3 separate regions of the Homo sapiens genome follow, and regions 1 and 3 are each linked to region 2. The links are contacts of gene promoters, found by promoter capture Hi-C in blood cells and fetal thymus (Javierre and others, 2016). All regions are on one chromosome and are shown on one strand. Each heading gives the region's core, a stretch centred on a gene start or on the middle of the fragment in contact. The rest is flanking DNA. Distances are from core to core; before and after follow the strand shown. Region 1 has its middle 11 kb from the start of LINC01213. Region 2 holds the start of SERP1 (stress associated endoplasmic reticulum protein 1). Region 3 has its middle 37 kb from the start of MINDY4B.

Region 1 (4,510 bases), core at 801-3,300, 320 kb before region 2:
TAGGATCTGAGTGGACACGAATGACAGTTGACCCAAGCACCACCATGGCCCCCTGTTAGAGTGGAACATACAGAACCTTGTGATAAACGGCCCACATCAGTCTCAAAATGGGCCTCGTGGGTCCATGGACCACACAGTGGTCATTCTCCCACTCCAAAAGTATGCTGGTAAACCAGCTCTCCAAAAAGAAAGAGGAAAAAAAAAAAAGTAGGGGGAGAAAAAAGCCCTGATTTTCACATATAGCACTGGCCAATTTCAAGTCCCCAACATGAAGTCATTGCACCTGAAGTAGGAAAAAGCGCCTTTAGTCCCGAGTGTAGAAAGAGGATGGATCTGTTAAACGACCAGCAGAACTCACTTGGGAGTTGGTCAGAAATGCAGAATCTCGGGCTCATCCCAGGGTATGAATCAGAACCTGCATTTTAACAAGATCCCAGGAAATTCATATGCACTTAAAAGATGAGAAGCCCCTGCTCCAGAACTATCCATAGATCCCCAAAGAGCCTCTATTTTTTTAGGTCTAAAGATTCTACAGCAGAGAGCATTTCTATTTTAAATGAATGAAGCTGTGACTTTCTCCAATATAGTTATCACTATCCCCATCATTGTCATCATCACTGACTGTCATCATTACCATCCCCGAGCAGGATCCATTAGATACCTACTTGTTTCATGGACCATTTTTTATATTAAAAAAAAAAAAGCCCATAATAACCTGACAATGTCTTCCCCTAGCTGAGAGCATTTTGACAGATATTTTTTCGAAGTAATCAGAGTTCTTTTTTTTCTTTTTTTTTTTTTCTTGGCTGGTTTCATCCTTTGGCAGGGTTCTACAACTTATTTGCTTTCACTTAGTTTATATCACTGTCCCTGGCAATCTCCACTTTCCCCGACTCCGCAGTTCACTCTTCATCTACCCCAACGCAGCCAGCTCTTCCCTCCCGGCCCCTCCACCTTACTCGAAGGTTTCTGCTATTGTCAGAACAGCCAAAGACAACAATGCTTCAACTGGCAGGAAACAGTCTTCACCCTCTCAGGATTTCCTATTATGTGATGTGCAGCCTTTTCCAGAAACACAATTGCATCTAAAAAAAGAAACTGCCTGGATTTACCTTCATCTCAACACAATGAGTCCATGGCCACCGTAGCCTTGAACGAGGGCCAAACACTCCGAAGCGCAGAGACTCAGAATCAATGGAGGTGAAGGAAGCTGCTTCCCAGGGACTTCCAAGCAAGGGTAGGCAGCTGTTTGCTTATTCCCCATTCTTTTGTTATGTTGTTTGATTTTGCCAGTGAAGCTTGGGTAAGAGGAAGGAAAGAGGAAGAGAGGGGCTACGGACCAAGAGGAAGGAATGGAGGGGAAGGGGCTCAGGATGATCAGGAGTTGGGAGCTATAACTGTAGGGTGGAGGGGATGACTCGAGAGAAAAGGAAAAGTAGCAGGTGAGTTGTTGAATGAGGAAGGATGAACTGGAGAAGAAAGAAAGGACAGCGGAGGTTTCACCATGATTTTTAGCTGTCTCTACATAGCTGGAATGATAGAGACCTCATAGCTGGGTCATGGTTTTCTGAAGTGGAGAATGAAGAGAGTTTCAATGTCAGTGCCAGGTCTGGCAGTTGTTTATTTCCTTCTTTACACCCCATCCCCCACCCCCACCCCCACCCCCAGTAGCATACCTACCTCTGGGAAGAGAAGTTCTCACCTCTATTCTCATTCCCTTCTCTGTGTAGGGAGAGTGCAGGAGAGTGGATGATGGAGGAGGTAAAAACAGTATCTTCAGAACTAGAGAGGATTTAGGTGTCTGTCCCAGTAATCTGAGACAAGAGAAAATAAAATGCAATTAAGTTGTGGGGAAGTAAATGCAGTTAAATAGCATTAGGCAACTGTTTCAGAAGAAATCCAGGCCTGAAAATAAAGACCTGGATTGGATACTGGAGGAAGTGATCCTGTAAGAGAGATGGGGAGTTTTCAGTGGTGAAGCTAGCAGGAGACAATGTGAAGAACATTTGTAATGACCTGGAAATTCAGGAAAAAACAGAGAACTGGTGAGAATCCAGGAGGCATGTGAGTTTGATGTTACCTGAAGAGGAATCTGCGGAAGGCAGCATGTCCTTCTGGGCCTCCAACTCTCACAATTCAGAGGTGAGCAGCCTCAGGCTCTAACCCCAGCTCTTCATTCCTTGCTTCACCTCTCTAAGCCTTAGTTGGGTTCCCCATCTGTAAAACCCAGACAATAACACCCATCTCATAAGGTGTTTGCGAGGATTACAGGAGATGTAAATGAGAAGTGCCACTTCCCATACATTCTCTTCAGGGAATTTATGGGCAGAGTCAAGATTCAGGAGGTGGTAAGAAAATAGTTTCGACCTGAAGTTAGGCATTGGACCAGAGCGAAAAGGAGATGCCAAGAGGCCAGAAGTAGAGTTCAGATCAGACCTGGAATTAAAGATAAGGTGAATTTAAAAATTACTAAGACCCTAAGGATCTACACTAGGTAAGAAGAGGGAAAGTGGTGGCAGTGGGGTGGGAGCCAGGTTTTTGTGCACATTTTGCCTTGGGGCCTCACCAAAGAGGGGATGTGGGAAGTTTCTCCCACTAGAAGCCTTCCAACCTAATGTAGGAAGATGGATAGAATTAGATTATCACCATTTTGCAACCCCTAATGAATAATGAACCTAGCCACTGATCATTATGCCAGTTATTAATTTATTGCCTCTCAGCCCCACATCCACCCTTCAGTAACTGCTCTGGGGTAATGGAATGGACTCTTCAAGCATTTCCCCTTTACAGTGAGATCGATGTGAAGCTTTGTCGGTAGAGGGCGCTGGAGGGACACTGTAGGAGAAGGGGGGCTTTTCTTCCTGGTTCCAGGGTACTGACCTTTGTTTTTTGTTGCTCCAGCTGCATGGTCTGTCAACAGTGCGTGTGTGAGTTACCCAGTGGTGCTCTGCCCCAGCCATATACCCAGAATGTACAGTCCCTCAGTGACCTCAGAGCCCCAGACTCGGCCCAGTGAACCTCACCTCAGTCCTTGGGATGTGGATTAACATCTGCAGTGGAGTCTCAACTCTTCCTGGGCACTGCTTTCCAGCATCAGCTGGCCTGCACCCCAGGATGTTGTTTCCCTGGGCCCACACAACATGAGCATTGCACACCAGACCCTCCACCCATTGCACACATGAGGCCTCACCTCCCAGACTTAACGCACCTGCACTCATTGGTTTCTTTCCTGCTGGCCTGGAGGCTGTGGACCGGCTCTGGCTGGACAGCCCAGTGAACTTAACTGCTATCTAGTAGGCCACATGCTTGCCTGCTCCAATAATGTTGGAATCGCAGCCTTGGGGAAGAGCCCACCCCTTCCAGTTTTGCTTTTCCTTGAGTACTCTCCCCTAGACATAGGGTACTCTTCAGGAGTCTCTTTATGTCTTCATAGGTACTCTCTTATCTTATGGTATTAGTTCATTCTCACACTGCTAATAAAGACATACCTGAGACTGGGTAATTTATAAATGAAAGAGGTTTAATTGACTCACAGTTCCGCATTGCTGGGGAGGCCTCAGGATTATTACAATCACAGTGGAAGGCAAAAGAGAAGCAGGCACCTTCTTCATGGGGTGACAGTACAGAGTGAGTGCAAGCAGGGGAGATGCCAGACGCTTATAAAACCATCAGATCTCAAGATAACTCACTCACTATCACAAGAACAGTATGGGGGAAACCACCCCCATGATCCAATTACCTCCACTTGGTCACTGCCTTGACACGTGGAGATTATGGGGATTACAATTCAAGATGAGATTTTGGGTGGGGACACAGCTAAATCGTATCACTTATCTTAATCGTTCTTTTTATGAAACTTCCAGTATTTGAATTAACGAATGGCTTCTGTTTCTTGAGTGGATCCACAACAACACAATCACGAATGGCTGCTAACTTCACAAAGAGCCAGCCAGAACTATGTGGCCTTGTTGGAAATGTACAACACAATCTTTCAAGTATTCTTGTCAAGACATCAGCCCTGAGTCTGATCAAGCCTTAGATCTAACTAAAAGTATGCAAGAAATACACAGGGCATGGAAACATGTTAAATGACACCATGAGTATCATCAGAGAGTCCAGCCTGTGGGAAACTCCATAGGGAAAATAACCAGAATTCTTCAACAAATGAGGGAAATAATCTATAAATTCAGAGACTTAAAAGGCACTAATTAAAATCTATGGACCTTGCTAAAGGCATCACACTACCTGAATTTAAAACATACTACAAAACCAAAACAGCATAGTACTGGCATGAAGACAGACACACAGACCGCTGGAACAGAATAGAGAACCCAGGAATAAATTTACATATTTACAGCTAATTGACTTTCAACAAGGCACCAAACATTTACTGAGGAAAGAACAACTGCTTCAATAAATGGTGCTGGGAAAACCGGAGATCCATATGCCAAAAAATGAAACTAGACCTCGATCTCTCAACAGACAAAATTCAAATCAAAATGGATTAAAG
Region 2 (4,402 bases), core at 1,754-4,253:
TTCGCAGTTGATGTGCCTTTTTTTGCTATTAAAAGTGCTATTTAACATGCTAAAATGTCTTATGGCACATTGGACTCAACAGCATGTTCTGATGAGGCATCCATTTTTAGCAGTATTTTTCCCTAGAATTTTGTTTGGCATAGTAAACCCCTTTGATATATTAAAATAGTTCTGGTGAAATAAATGTAACATAAACAAACCTTCCCTGACTGACTTCACTCCACCACGGTAGCTTTTAGTGAAACCACAGTAACTGATTAAGTCAGAAAACGATCAAGTTTTTTTTTTATGGCATCTTGGGTTACTATACTCACTCATGCAAAATCCAAGGTAGTGTAATGGAAACAATATTGGTAAAATAGATGTTGTGGCTATAAGCATCTCCCTTTATATTAGACATTTAGAAGCTTTTAAAACTTTTTAGATGCTAAAGGTTGTGGCAAAACTAGGCTGTGTAGTTGTTCCATTTATAAGCACCTTATTACAGGACAGTTACATGAACCTATAAGGGAGTGTGCTTTCAGTTCAAAAGAGTAATAAAGTGCCTAGCTATATAAAAACCACAAGACTTCAAATTGTAATTTAAGCTAACTGCAGTTATACATTTGGGTTAACAAAATCTAGACCCTGTCTATGCAGAGTTAGACTAATTGTTCATACTGTTTTAATAACCACATAAAAAAACTTACTCTTAATTGACTGAATAAGTAGGGTCCACTACTGTATCTTAACAATCAAATTTTATTGCTTTATTCATGTGGTGTTTTTTGCAAGGCACTGTGGTATGGACTAGAAAACTTGGAATGACTCATGAAGAAACCTTGGAATGACACATGAAGCATGATAGGAAAGTCATTCTGAGGCAGGATGCTTTACTGAATTGTTTTCAACCAGGGTATCAAACATCAGGAATGAGTTCAAGTTAAAATTCACAGGAGAATGGAAACATCTTAAGGTCAGTCACTTCACATGCCCATCCTGATACTTTGAATAATCTGGAAAATTGCTGTAAAAAGAAAGAGCAAATATTAAAATAAGCTTTGAATAAAATAGGTCTGGTGTCTAACAAATATTTATTAAGGTAGCTGAAGAATCCAAAGGTACTCTTACATTTGCAAATGGTACATAACTTCAGTATAATAAGAAGTGAAGACAGGCCTGTCTGAATAAATAAAACAATGAAATATCCCTGAGTTATTTTTTTATCTTAGCTTCGCTGAACTTTATGTCTAAGTATCCAAGAGAACTTGCAGATAAGTAATCATTTTACAAAGAACTTAAAGCACCAAAGCCAACAGGTTTTTCCAGCATAGAATTATTTTGGTTTATAAGCATCCTTTTAAGGCCTGGCCTGTAACACATGCATGTTTCCTCATTCTCACAAAGCTGAAATTCAATCATCTTCAGGTTATATAAACTGCTTGGCTCTCATCCATTTATCAGGAAAGCTTCCAATTGGTAAGTGAAGAAGAAAGGCAAAGTGAAACGTTAAACAGAAATCTCAGTAATTTTAGAATGTGGAAAACAAACATCTACTTCAATATTAACAGCTTGCATATTAAAATGATAAATGAAGAGAGGAAAGACCTTTTTTTTGTAATCTATTTGCAAAGGCAAGTGTCTGTTACTCTTAGGGGACAGCAGGCTACCCCGACACTTTTTTTTTAAACCATGTATCAAACGTTTCTTTTATTAACCTAAAAACATTTGACTCACACATTAAAATGCCAATCAGGTAATTTCCTCTATAGTGAATCAATTCTTTGCACAAGCTTTATTTTATAAAATATACTCAATTTTGACATTAAGACATTAGATTCTGGTATATGTTAAATCAAGTTCTAACATCTATAGTACATATTTATAATTTTCTTTGCAAAGACTGATAATGGAGTTACAAAACATTCTAAATTCTCATTTCGTTAGGTTTTGTCCGGTCTTAACATTTATTCCAACTGGATCATTACCAAGACCTGACCTCCTTTTTGATCTCCTGTGAGTACAAATTAAGCTGGGAGAAGTTTCTGGAGCACCACCCTCTGTGCATATGTGGAACAAGTAATTTGGTTCAGACGAAACAGAATTATGTGGAGTCCTCGGCAGGTGGGTTGAGAACTACGCAGGTAGGACTCACTACTGACCGGTCACCACGTCATCCCAAATCCTTTCAACCCAAGACTCTACCTGATGGGAGCCCCCAAGCCACTTACCAGAACCACAGACAACAAAAATGAAGAGAGCCAATAACCAGGGTCCTACAGACGCCTTCTCTTCGGGGGCATTTCTCTGCAAAAGCGAAAATCCACCATTTCAGATGCAGAGAAACCACTCGGACCCCAGGCTCCCACGCCTGCACGCCGGTCGCCGGCCCCCTCACCTCACAGGTCTCCCCTTCCGTTCCCGAGCCCCCACAGTCTGGCGGTTCGCAGACTCGGGCCCCTACCCCTCCACGGCACCAGCCCACGGTCGGCCGGATCCGGGAGAAAACGCGACGCGGCCCCAGGGACCCGGACTCAGCTCCGGCTGCGGAACGCAGAGGGGCGCCCGCTCTTTCCTTACCGAGGTCTTGGCGACGTTGCCGCGCTGGGTGATGTTCTTGCTGTGCTTCTCGTTGGCCATACGGATCCTTTGCTTGGCGACCATCTTCGCGGCGCCACCACCTGCCCCGGCCACCCCTCGGACTCGCTCACTCGCCTGCCTCCTCTGGAGCCGCTGCGAGGCTCGGCTCGTGGTGCCCGCGCCGCCGGAGCGCCGAGGTTCTCAGGCCAGACGCTAGCTACGGCCGCTGGGCCTGGGCGCCGCAAGCGCGAGGTCTGAGCACAAGCCGGGCGCCGGCCGCCGACTGACTGACCGAGCGGGGCAGGTGCGCAGGAGGAAGAGAACTGGCCGCCGGGTCGTTCTCGCGCCGCCGTCGCCGCCGCTTTGGCCGCCGCCGTGAGCGCGGAGTGAAAGAGGAAGGAAACGCAACGCAACAACGGGAATGTGCAGCCCGCCGCCTCGATCTACTTTGGGTTCGGCTGCCAACGTCAGCACTAGACGGACTCCGCCCCGCGGAAGTGCGCGCCCCTCCCGCTGGAGAAGGAGGGCGAAAGCAGGCGCACCCTCCCAAGCTCTGTCAAGCGTCGCCCTAGATTTGCGCGTGCGCGTTTGGGCGCCTTTTCCGCGTCACTCCGTAACCGGAAGTGAATTGGCCCCGAGGCTGATGGCTCCGGAAACACCAATTCGCTGTCTCCACGCATGAGGAGACGTGTAGGGGCCGGGTTCGGCCCTGGTGAACTCTCACCCGAGCGGTTTCTCTTTCCGGGACAACATGGCGCCGTCCACGCCGCTCTTGACAGGTGAGTTCTGAAGAAGCGAGGGACTCTCTTTCTTCAGACTAGTTTCTTATTTTTGTCTTTGCCTTTGAGAACTACCCGAGGAGCCGGGGAGTCTGATCTGCCTTTTCTTGTGGCTTGCGGAAAGGCCAGACTGTTGGCTTTCTTGATATAGCGTGGCAATCGGAAGTGAAGTCTCCGCCTCTGGGCTTTCGTATTCCCCCTCCCTTTCACCCATCCATCATTCTTGCCTGCGGATTCATCTTCTACAGAAATAGAAGAAGGGGGAGAAAAACAATGTGCTAGTTGAATTTGTGACACATGGGTCTGCAATACTGGTGTTACACGGGCCCTTGTGAAGTCATTTAGGTCTACAATAAGAACAAAGACAAACATGAGTTAGTCCTCTAGAATGATCACGCACTTTAAATACACCTGGACTTAAGTAATTCCAGATTCTGGCCTTCCTGCCTTAATGAGGTTTGTAGGACTGAATAGGGAGAGTGGAGCTGTAATGCAGGTTTCAAATGATGAAGGTGTGGTTGGGAGAGGGTGTAGCAGTGAGCATGATAGAGATATTCTAGCAACATTTGATTTTGAAATGGTTATGAGCATATTAGAAATAGAACATTAGAGGACTCTTGAAATTTTGAAGCTAAAGACTGTAGTGTTGGAGGAGATAATAAACTTAGATTGGAAAATGCTGGGGAAGTTGCTTTACTAGGGTGTGGCTAAGAGTCTGCATATGAGTATTACGTAAGGAAAAGAGAGTCGGGAAGGAAAAGAAGGTTTTGGTTAAGTTCTGATAACTATATAGAAGGAAAAAGTCATTAAGAGAAAGGTTGTCTGCATTTAAGGAGGGAGGCTATTCCCTCCCTTCCCCCCCGCGAAAGGAACCTTAAAACATTTTTGCACTTTTTGCCAGTCTACATTTCTATTTTTACATTTTAAAATCTTTGTTATTAAGCGCCATGCCCACTGATGCTCAGTCTGTCTTCTGCAGTTTAGTCATCATTTATCAAACGCCGAGTATAATCTTCTAGATAATATACCAGGCAAAGACTGTTTAAAAGGCAAAGTTACATAAT
Region 3 (4,102 bases), core at 1,603-4,102, 320 kb after region 2:
ATACGGGGTTTCACCATCTTGGCCAGGCTGGTCTGGAACTCCTGACCTCATGATCCACCCGCCTCAGCCTCCCAAAGTGCTGGGATTACAGGTGTGAGCCACTGCGCCCAGCCCTTCTTTTTCCCTTTTTTTTTTTTTTTTGAGACTGGGCTTTTCTTGCCGCCATCTTGAATCTGATTTGGTTTTCTCTGTTGCGCTTTTTTGCTGGCGTCATTTTCCTCACACCTTAGCTCATCATTCTATCCTGTTCTATTGCTCTGGGCTTCTCAGGAGACCTCTTTCCTTCACAAGACTGGCTTCTCCAGGTGTTAGAAAGTGTCTCTACATGTGAAGCAGATCCCTCTCTTAATTTCCCAAACAAAGCACAGGGAATATCAGGCTAGAATGTTTAACATCTTAATTTAAACACAAAGGAATTACAATGCAGGAAAACCTAAAATGTTACTTCTCCTGATCGTGTCTCTGCTTTAAGAAGCCCCTTGGACTTCTGACAACTTGCCGTTCTCTGTCACTTGGCTGTGTTCCCTAAATGTTGGTCCAGGCCCTGTGCAAGGCTCCCAGCTCTGGCAGCAGCATTAGGGTGGGGAGAGCCTTTCTTCCCTCTCCTTAGGCGTCCTCCTTCCTGTTCCCACGATGATTGATGGAAGAAATGCCTGCCCTTACCTACAGGGCATGGTTTCTAGACACAGTTCAATTCTCATTTTTCTCCTCTGTCTCTGGCTATTTCTTCTGCGCCTGCTTTCCAGGCTCTTCGCACACTGCCTGACTGCTGACACGAGAATTCCTAAGGGCTCAGCATTAGGCCCAGCTATCTTCTTGCTTCATACTCTCCTTGGGCAGTCTTACCCCAGGCCACCATGTTACTTACCCTTAGTGACTCCCAGGTGTATTTATTTCTCTGGTCCAAACCTCTCCATTGATTTCCAGATCCTTATTTCTGATCCATTAATCTACCTTTCCACTTGAATGTTTCATGTCTAAGACTAGATGTGTGATTTCTTGCCCTCAAAATCTGGTATGTTTTGAGTGTTTCCAAGTTCTGTGAAGGTACAACCTTCCATCCAGTTATCAAATCAGAAACCTAGAAGTCATCCTTGATCCTTCTTTCTTTCTTCCTCATCTCCCTCCCCATGCAACCTATTTCAGCCTTCTCCATTTTACCTACCAAGAGGTGTCTCCTGAGAGGCCCACTTCAGTCTACTTTAATTGCCTCCATTCTGTTCTGACCATCTCTTGTCCACACCACTGCCTAACTAACTAGTCTCCGCATGCCTAACTGGTCTCTGCATGCACTTGGGGCTCTCTCCAATCCATGTTCTACTCTGAGGCATGTGTTCAAAATGCAAATCTTACCAGGCCACTTAAAACCTTTCCAAGGTTTCTCACACCTTATAGTCTACACTGCCTTGCGGTGGCCCCACCTTTTGCTCCAGCTGCTTCACAACCACTCTTTAGCCCCACAGGCTTTTCTGTTCCTCAGGCGCATTCACCACAGGGCTTCACATCTGCTTGCCCTTCTTCCCCTTACCCTGTTATCTCTATGCAGCCTTCTTACTTCAGCTAACCATCTCTTCCTCAGACATGCCTTTTCCTTTTCTTTCAGTTCTTTATTATAAGATTGACGCACCCAAAATCTCTTCCCTTAGTTTTCAAGTTTATCTTTATTAAAGTGCTTTTTGATTAATTGCCATCTCCTCAGAAGAGCCTAAGTTTCATAAGAAAAGAGGGTGTGCCACATCTGATTTTGCTCGCTGTGCTGATTTTCCCCAGCATCAAGCATAGTGCCTGGCACATAGGGCATGTTAAAAAACATTGAATGGCCAGGCATGGTAGCTCATGCCTGAATCCCAGCACTTCGGGAGGCCAAGCGGGCAGATCACTTGAGGTCATGAGTTAAAGACCAGCCTGGCCAACATGGTGAAACCCAATTTCTACCAAAAAATACAAACAAATTAGCCAGAGTGGTTGTGTGCACCTGTAGTCCCAGCTACTTGGGAGGCTGAGGCACAAGAATCGCTTGAACCCGGGAGGTGGAGGTTACAGTGAGCCAAGGTCACACCAGTGCACTCCAGCCTGGGCGACAGAGTGAGACTCCATCTCAAAAATAAAAATAAAAATAAAATAAAAAACATTGAATGAATGAATGAATGAATGATTATGTCTCTAAGGCCCTGACAAGGGAATTACAACCATTAACAGAAAATGCAGGCCCAGGTGTGGCTGAAGAGTGCCCACAGCCTGGACAGCTCAGGTCCAGTCTCAGCCAGTTGCTATTCAGGGTTATTTCCACAGTGTGAAGTGAAGGGAATCTTAGGCCTCCCCCAACCTGGCCTGCTCCTACGGGTCTTGTGACATTGGTGAGAATGTTCTTGGAAAAATGATTCACACATCTTGTCTAAGAGCAAACAATAATTCGGGGGAATGTTCCAGTCTAAGTTGATATTTGAAAGAGGAAAATAGTTGCCATCGCCTCAAGGGTTCATTCCCACTAAAGACACAGTCAGTTTAGATGACTAGTCAGAAAAATTAATATCCCCGTCTTCAAGCAAACAGCTTTCTTCTGCTTTGTATTTGAGAAGCTGAAAAAAAAGTCATTTTTCTCAAAACAAAGTTTAAAAGTGAACTAATGGCTCTGAGAAACTTCCAGTTATTTTTATTTTTTTATTTTATTTTATTTTATTTTTTTTGAGACGGAGTCTCGCTGTCGCCCAGGTTGGAGTGCAGTGGCGTGATCTCGGCTCACTGCAGGCTCCGCCTCCTGGGTTCACGCCATTCTCCTGCCTCAGCCTTTTGAGTAACTGGGACTACAGGTGCCCGCCACCTCGCCTGGCTAATTTTTTGTATTTTTAGTAGAGATGGGGTTTCACCGTGTTAGCCAGGATGGTCTCGATCTCCTGACCTCGTGATCCGCCCACCTCGGCCTTCCAAAGTGCTGGGATTACAGGCGTGAGCCACCGCGCCCAGCCACTTCCAGTTATTTTTAAATAACATGTCTCCACTCTGAAGAAAAAAATCAAGTATTACCGGGTACCCTGTTTATAAGATAAAATAACTTATTTTCACTGAACATTGATATACAAAGTAATTAATAGTTTTATATATCAAAATTATACTTTTACATCTAAAACGTAGGTACTTAATCTTTCCTCCATTATTTTACTTATTTATAGACTTGTTCCAGGAATAATTTAACCCAAATTACAATACCATATAAAATATGGCAAACTAACATAAATTATAAACAAATTAAAAATTCAAAGGAGGAATAAGGGAAGGAACATAAAATGGATACAAGAATGAGGTCAATTTAAAAGTTGGCTTTTGTAAGGACCGATACACTACCCGACAGTCATCCTGCTTTTCTTCCTTCTACAAAACCCTGATTTTGTTCTAATATCAAGTGCCCTGTTCTCAGACTCAGAGGATGAACCATGATGATCTGAGTCATGGATCCCCTAGCTAGACAGCTCTTGTTAAAAGGAATATCTTTATTGTTTGCGACTTTTCGTGAGATCTCTTACTTGCAGCTGAGCAGTTCCTTACTAATGCACTGGTGTGTTTTTTAATTCAGCTCTAAGCAGTCAACTCCAAAAGAGACATTCAGTAAGAAACAATGTAGTGTCCATAAAACAAAAAACAGGCCCGCACCTCAGGAAAAGCACAATGTAAGTAAGATTAAGACCACATAAGCCCAAAGTCTGTAGGGATCCACTTATTTGTCCAGTGTATTTAAAATCCCCAGTGAAAACACCAATGATAAAGATACTATAATCCGCAATTCAAGCCTAATTGCCTTTCTCTTCTGACATAATTTATTATTCACCTTGAAGTTTCATTTCCTACATGGTCCTTAAGTTAAAACATTATTCTTTGAGCCAAATGCAAATGCATTTAATAAATGAATTTGAATGAATGCAGAAAGATTGTTCTTTGGAAACTAACCTTGGGATTGTGAATACAGTGCCCTAAGTCTGTGAGGTGGCAGATTAGCGGGGTGGCTGGCGGTGTCTACATTATTCTCGTGTACTTCTTTTAGAAGGAATATGTGTTTACTCTGTGTATCTCTTCAGAAAGAACATAGGCATTTAACAGGACAGGGAAA

What was found. The method cuts DNA at HindIII sites, captures the fragments that hold promoters and counts their contacts. A CHiCAGO score of 5 or more calls a contact.
Region 1: a fragment that was not itself captured here is called in contact with the fragment with the promoter of SERP1 in region 2 in 2 of 17 cell types (endothelial precursors and megakaryocytes); the score reaches 8.1 in endothelial precursors.
Region 3: a fragment that was not itself captured here is called in contact with the fragment with the promoter of SERP1 in region 2 in 6 of 17 cell types (activated CD4 T cells, naive CD4 T cells, erythroblasts and 3 more); the score reaches 8.7 in activated CD4 T cells.

The regions. Positions count from the first base shown.
Region 1 is chr3:150,225,134-150,229,643 of GRCh38, forward strand. No RefSeq gene overlaps it. Among named protein-coding and RNA genes, the nearest start is that of LINC01213, 11 kb to the right of the region's middle. The HindIII fragment of the contact is 1,508 bases long and covers 1,297-2,804 here.
Region 2 is chr3:150,543,493-150,547,894 of GRCh38, forward strand. It overlaps SERP1 (stress associated endoplasmic reticulum protein 1), which reads right to left and starts at 3,004. Exons shown (of 3, transcript NM_014445.4): 1 at 2,560-3,004; 2 at 2,211-2,286; 3 at 1-1,006. The coding sequence starts at 2,643. The coding sequence ends at 966. It overlaps EIF2A (eukaryotic translation initiation factor 2A), which reads left to right and starts at 3,295. Exons shown (of 14, transcript NM_032025.5): 1 at 3,295-3,338. The coding sequence starts at 3,311. RefSeq lists enhancers at 2,515-3,145, 2,591-3,790, 3,063-3,602. The HindIII fragment of the contact is 4,802 bases long and covers 1,771-4,402 here.
Region 3 is chr3:150,866,167-150,870,268 of GRCh38, forward strand. No RefSeq gene overlaps it. Among named protein-coding and RNA genes, the nearest start is that of MINDY4B, 37 kb to the right of the region's middle. The HindIII fragment of the contact is 8,369 bases long and covers 1-4,102 here.